Linked DNA regions of Homo sapiens: region 1 is linked to region 2. The links are contacts of gene promoters, found by promoter capture Hi-C in blood cells and fetal thymus (Javierre and others, 2016). All regions are on one chromosome and are shown on one strand. Each heading gives the region's core, a stretch centred on a gene start or on the middle of the fragment in contact. The rest is flanking DNA. Distances are from core to core; before and after follow the strand shown. Region 1 has its middle 7.0 kb from the start of SPATS2. Region 2 holds the start of FAM186B (family with sequence similarity 186 member B).

Evidence for each region. Contacts are between HindIII fragments. The CHiCAGO score rates a contact against its expected background, and 5 or more counts as called.
Region 1: a contact is called between a fragment that was not itself captured here and the fragment with the promoter of FAM186B in region 2, in 3 of 17 cell types (endothelial precursors, M2 macrophages and M1 macrophages). The highest score is 8.3, in endothelial precursors.

The regions. Positions count from the first base shown.
Region 1 is chr12:49,358,775-49,362,064 of GRCh38, reverse strand. No RefSeq gene overlaps it. Among named protein-coding and RNA genes, the nearest start is that of SPATS2, 7.0 kb to the left of the region's middle. The HindIII fragment of the contact is 5,412 bases long and covers 1-3,290 here.
Region 2 is chr12:49,604,293-49,607,266 of GRCh38, reverse strand. FAM186B (family with sequence similarity 186 member B) reads left to right here and starts at 1,628. Exons shown (of 7, transcript NM_032130.3): 1 at 1,628-1,885; 2 at 2,729-2,954. The coding sequence starts at 1,790. The HindIII fragment of the contact is 1,733 bases long and covers 627-2,359 here.

The sequences.
Region 1 (3,290 bases), core at 579-3,078, 250 kb after region 2:
GATATTAAGTGAATTTGTCCTATGTGTAAGATAGTAACTAATATTGCTGTACTCTAAGTTCTTTTATTAAGTTTTTAAATTATCTTTCATTTATAGATTCTGTCACCACTTTAAAAAAATAGTATGCTTCACTTCTGTCAAATGTTTTATACTTCATAAAGCACTCTGTACACATTGTCTCATTTGATTGTCTGAACATTGTGTGGTGCAGGCATCATTGTCCTCATGTAACAAATGAGGAAACTGAAGCTCAAAATTTTTCAATAATTTACCTAGGTTGCACATTTAATAAATGTCCTGCTATTTACATTAGGAGAAGACACAGTCACTTGCCCTCAAGCAGCTTTGGTATAGTTAAGAAGAGAAGACTTGCAAACATGAGACAGAGAACAATTTATATGGCAACATGCAAGAAACTTATTGATAGAACAGTACAAACTAGATGGGAATACAGAAGGAATTCAAAGGGCAAAGATTACTAGAGGTGGAATTAATCAGCAAAGGCATCATTTAGGGATAAACCTTAAGCTAGGTCATAAAAGAAGTGTAAAGATTTGTATTAGCAAGGCTAGGCATGGTGGTTAATGCCTGTAATCCCAGCACTTTGGGAGGCTGAGGCCGGTGGCTCACCTGAGGTCAGGAGTTCGAGACCAGCCTGGCCAATATGATGAAATCCTGTCTCTACAAAAAATACAAATATATTAGCCTGGCGTGGTGGCGGGCGCCTATAATCCCAGCTACTCGTGAGGCTGAGGCACAAGAATCACTTGAACCCAGGAGGCGGAGGTTGCAATGAGCCAAGATCACACCACTGCACTCCAGCCTGGGCAAGAGCGAAACTCCATCTCAAAAAAAAAAAAAAAAAAAGATTTAGCAGAGAGGAAAAATAATTATAGGAAAGAAGAAGAACATCAACCAAAGGCAGAAATATCAAAACAAACACATTGATGGAGAAGAATTAGAGCCTGAAGGGAGATGGGTCTGAAATGATCAGTCATCTTGGCTGTGCAAGAAAAGTCAACTGCTAAGACGAAGTAAGTTTGCAGGCACTGAATATCAAATTTACTGAATATTAAACGTACACTCTCTCCTGTGGTTCATGGGAGGGAAAGGGAGGAAAAAGCAAGAGAAACCACGTCTAAAGTGGGTAAGGATATGGAAGGAGGGGTGGGGGAGTAAAACAAGCCTCAGTGGCCCTCAGATCTGTGACTGGGAAACACCTGAACCAAAGACGTTTTATGTCCCACAACCCCTTCCCATTCTTTTCTTTTTTTTTTGAGACAGAGTCTCGCACTGTCACCCAGGCTGGAGTGCAGTGGCGCGATCTCAGCTCACGGCAACCTCCACCTCCCGGGTTCAAGCGATTCTCCTGCCTCAGCCTCCCAAGTAGCTGGGACTACAGGTGCGCCACCATGCCCAGCTAATTTTTTTGAAGTTTTAGTAGAGACGGGGTTTCACATGTTGGCCAGGATGGTCTCAATCTCTTGACCTCGTGATCCACCTGCCTTGGCCTCCCAAAGTGCTGGGATTACAGGCGTTAGTCACCGGCGCCAAGCCCCATTCCTTTTTTTTTTTTTAAGAGACAGGGTTCTCACTCTGTTGCCCAGGTTGGAGTGCAGTGATGGGATCATTGCTCACTGCAGCCTCCAGCTCCCAGGCTCAACTGGTCCTCCCATTGCAGCCTTCCCAGTGGCTTGGACTACAGGTGTGAGCCACCAGGCCTGGCTAATTTTTTTTTTTTTATAGAGATGGGGTCTCCCCATGTTGCCCAGGCCGGTCTCAAACTCAAGCAATCTTCCCCACTGGGTTCAAGTGATCCTCCTGCCTTAGCCTCTCAAAAGTGCTAGGATTATAGGCATCAGCCACTATGCCTGGCCTTTTTTTTCCCCACTCTTGAGACAGATTAATAAATTTCTTATTTATTTATTTGAGGCAGGGGCTTGCTCTGTTGCCTAGGTTGGAGTACAGTGGCAGAATCATAACTCACTGTAGCCTCAAACTCCCGGGCTCAAGTGATCCCCCCGCCTCCGCCCATCATCACACCCAGCTCCCGTTCCTTTTCTGGTACTAATTCACCTGAAATGTGCCTGAGCCATTGATTCTAGGAAAAATGCCCTTTTAGGTGTTGCTTGCAAAGCCAGGCTCACATGCTGACTCAGTCACTGCCCAGCAGATGTTCCCCACAACATTTCTCAACCCAGAATTGGGACTGAGGTCTGGCACAGAATGGGTTAAAAGATTCCCTTCTGGGCTGGGAGTGGTGGCCTGTAATCCCAACACTTTGGGAGGGCAAGGCGAGCAGATCACCTGAGGTTGGGAGTTCGAGACCAGCCTGACCAAAATGGAGAAACCCCCGTCTCTACTAAAAATACAAAATTAGCTGGGTGTGGTGGTACATGCCTGTAATCCCAGCTACTCAGGAGGCTGAGGCAGGAGAATCGCTTGAACCCGGGAGGTGGAGATTGTGGTGAGCTGACATGGTGCCATTGCACTCCAGCCTGGGCAACAAGAGCGAAACTCCGTCTCAAAAAAAAAAAAAAAAGATTCCCTTCCAAGTTTCCCATACAGGGCACTGTTTTACTGCTTTGTTCTGTTGAAACTTGTCAGTAACGTTTAAACCCAGAAAGTCCAAGATCCTTGCTTAGAGTCATAATAGTTTGCAAATAACCAGATGGACTATGGAAAGGGTGAATGAGAGGTGGGGAAAAAGAAGAATAAGAAAGAAAAGAGAGAACAAATTATTGAAATGAAGTATCTTTAGCTGGAACCCTACATAAATTTTTTACTTTTATTGCTCAAAACTCATCTTAGCAAAAACAAAACAAAACAAAACAAAACAGTTGAACAACTTTTAATCCCTTGAGGCGACTAACAGAAATACTGCAGGGAACATGAAGCAAAAGAAAAACATTTTAAATCACCTTCTCAGGGTGGGAACTTCAAAAGCCAAAGCACTGGCATGAGATGTGCGTTCAAAGTTCTAACATGAAATAGACAGCTCTAGATTCCCCTAGGAGATTAAATGACAACTGAAAAGCATGCTTCAGTTGGAGCTTGCTTTGAATAACACCCCAAATCCAACTTCACAGTTGCTTGCTCCTTCTCAGCAAAAGGAGAGGACTGAACTCTGGTAATGAACCTGCTATGGAGGTGCCACTACCACATTTTTTTTTAAGTGAAGGGGACAGCCGAGGGACATATTTTACCATGACAGCCTTGTAGCGCCATCTGCAGTTCCTAGCTAAGACTACAACAAACCACACGTCTCCAGGCTTGTTAGGACCACCCCA
Region 2 (2,974 bases), core at 379-2,878:
TTCAAAACATCAGATTTTAGTTGCATTGATTTTCTTCTATTTTTGTTTGTTTTCTATTGGTCTCTATTCTTATTCTTATTATTTCCTTCCTTCTGCTTATTTTGGGTTTTTTTGTTCTTCCTTTTCTAGTTTTTTCCTCTAAGCACTGATTTGGCAGCATCCTCAAAATTGTGATATGTTTCTATTTTTGCTCGGTTCAAAGTATTTCATAACTTTCCCTGTGATTTCTTTTTTGACTCAGGGTTATATGGAAGTATGTTGCTTAATTTGTAAAATATTTGGGAATTTTCCAAAGATCTCTCAATTATTGATTTATAGTTTAATACCATAGTGGTCAGAGAACATATTTTGTATTATTTTAGACTTCTTAGGGTAATTGATACTTGTTTTATGGCCCAAATTATGGTTTATATGATCATTGTTCCATATGCGTAGGGAATAATATGTGTCCTGTTGTTGGGTGAAGTGTTCTATGACTGTCAATGGAGTCAAGTTGGTTGATAGTATTTTTCAAAACCTCTATACTTTTTATTTTTTGCTACTTCTATCAACTCCTGCAAGAGAAGTGCTGGAATCTCCAACTATAATTTTGGATTTACCTATTCCTCCTTTCAGTTCTGGAAGCTTTTTACTTCATGTATTTTGAAGCAATGTTATTAGGTATATACACATTTAGAATTATGTTCTCCTTATTAATTGACATCTTTAGCATTATGGGATGTTCCTCCCTCTGTATGTTTGTGTGTGTGTGTGTGTGTGTGTGTGTGTGTGTGTGTGTGTCAGGGTATCTATCACCTAGGCTGGGGTGTAGTGGCGTGAACATGGCTCACTGCAGCCTTGACCTCCTGGGCTCAAGTGATCCTCCCATCTCAACCTCTCAAGTAGTTGGGATCCCAGGCATGCGCCACCATGCCTGGCTATTTTTTAAATTTTTTTGTAGAGCTAGGCTCTCACCATGTTGCCCAGGCTGGTCTCAAACTCCTGGGCTCAAGTGATCCTCCCACCTCAGCCTCCCAAATTGTTGGGATTACAGGCGTGAGCCACTGAGCCTGGCTTCCATTTGGTTATTGATTGGCTCTAATTTTTACAAATTTAAAATATTTTATTCAGGAAAATAACTTTTGCTAATTGCTTTTTCTTATTTGTAGACATTAATGTTTTGTTTGGGAGCATAACATTTAGTAATTTTTAAAAAGCAACAAGTAGGCCGGGCACGGTGGCTCACACCTGTAATCCCAGCACTTTGGGAGGCTAAGGTGGGTGGATCACGAGGTCAGGAGATCGAGACCATCCTCGCTAACACAGTGAAACCCCGTCTTTACTAAAAATACAAAAAATAAATTAGCCAGGCGTGGTGGCACGCACCTGTAATCCCAGCTACTCAGGAGGCTGAGCCAGGAGAATCACTTGAACCCAGGAAGTGGAGGTTGCAGTGACCGAGATCACACCACTGCACTCCAGCCTGGGCTACAGAGGGAGACTCCGTCTCAAAAAAAAAAAAAAAAAAAGAAAAGGCAACAAGTCAAGTAAATATATGTTAGGTAATGGACAAAAAGCTAGATAGTGGGGAGTCTCATCTCCTAATTCTTCTAATCAAACTGATGATGTCACTGGGGAAAAGAGGATCAGTTGGAACCTGGTGTTTGGCAGTTACCAGAGGAGCTGTGCCTGGGCAGAGGGTACCCAGGAGACACCCTGGTGCCCTTAACCTCCAAAGCAGGCAACATTGTGTGTCCAGGCCTGTGGACCAGAAACACAGGATGTTTTGTGACTGACAGAGTGATCCAAAATGGAGAAGGATGACCCCCCACAGTTGGTGACTCCCACATCAGTGAAAGCCATCATCCTGAGGATTGAGGCTGCCCAGCTAACTCGGGCTCAAGAGGTAGCCCCTGAGATGAAGGAATCACTCTTACATTGGGATCTGATGCGGAGACTGGGGGCTGATCCCAGGTTTGAGTGAGATTCCAGCTCTGGGTCCTCAGAGGCCCTGGGATATTCAGCAACCTGGGTCTGCAGACAGATTAGTATAAATTATCTCTCTCCTAAACTTGGCATATACAGGGTGAGCTGAAAGCAACCACCCGCCTGAGGCAGGGCTGGGGCCCGGGAAGGGGGCAGGAAGCTCGAGGATAGCCCTGAGGCACATCGTGGTGGTGTGGTGGGTTTTAGAGGGCAGGAGAAAGGACCCAGAATCTGTTCTTGGCAACCCTCCAGAATCCCCCAAGCTGAGCCCAGGAAGTTCATAGGGGTTGGGGAAATGTCCAAAGGCTCAAATCACCCTGTACACGAGGCTCTAGTACATTTTTTACTTGAGCCTCTGATCCTAGAGTTTCTTGGGGCCTCACTTTTCCAAGCTTCTGTTGCCTGTGGATCCTTGTGAGGAAAGACATCCAGAAACCCCCAGCAACCTCTGAAATTCTAAAGAAATGTTTGCTGTGGGGTTTTGGTGTTCTATACTTTCTTGACCTTCTTAATAATCACAATGATAATAAAAGCTACCACTTTTGTGTAATGTGCCAGGTACTATTAAAAGCACTTTAAAATATTTAATTCATTTAATCCTTACAGAAACCCTGTGACATAGGTACTATAATGATTCCCACTTTAAATATAAGAAAACTGAGACCCAAAGAGGCTAAGCGACTTGTCCAAGGTCACGCTGCTAGCATGTGGCTTCTGGCTCAAGTCCACAGCCCTAACACTACAATCTGCTGCTTCTCTATAGGATATTTCTACCCAGCTCTCAGACATTTTGGACAATGTCAATTGTGTCATCAACCGCTTCCAGGAAGAATTAGGATATGATTTAAAAGAAAATGCCAAATCTCAGCAGAGAGATCCAAAGGGCAAGAAGAGATTCATCTTGCTGGAAAAAATTGCCTCCTTCTCCAAAGATGCTATGATGAAGGAGAAGCACCTGTATGACATTCTCCGCTGGCTGGGTGACTGGGGTGAGTTTGCAGGCTGGGCA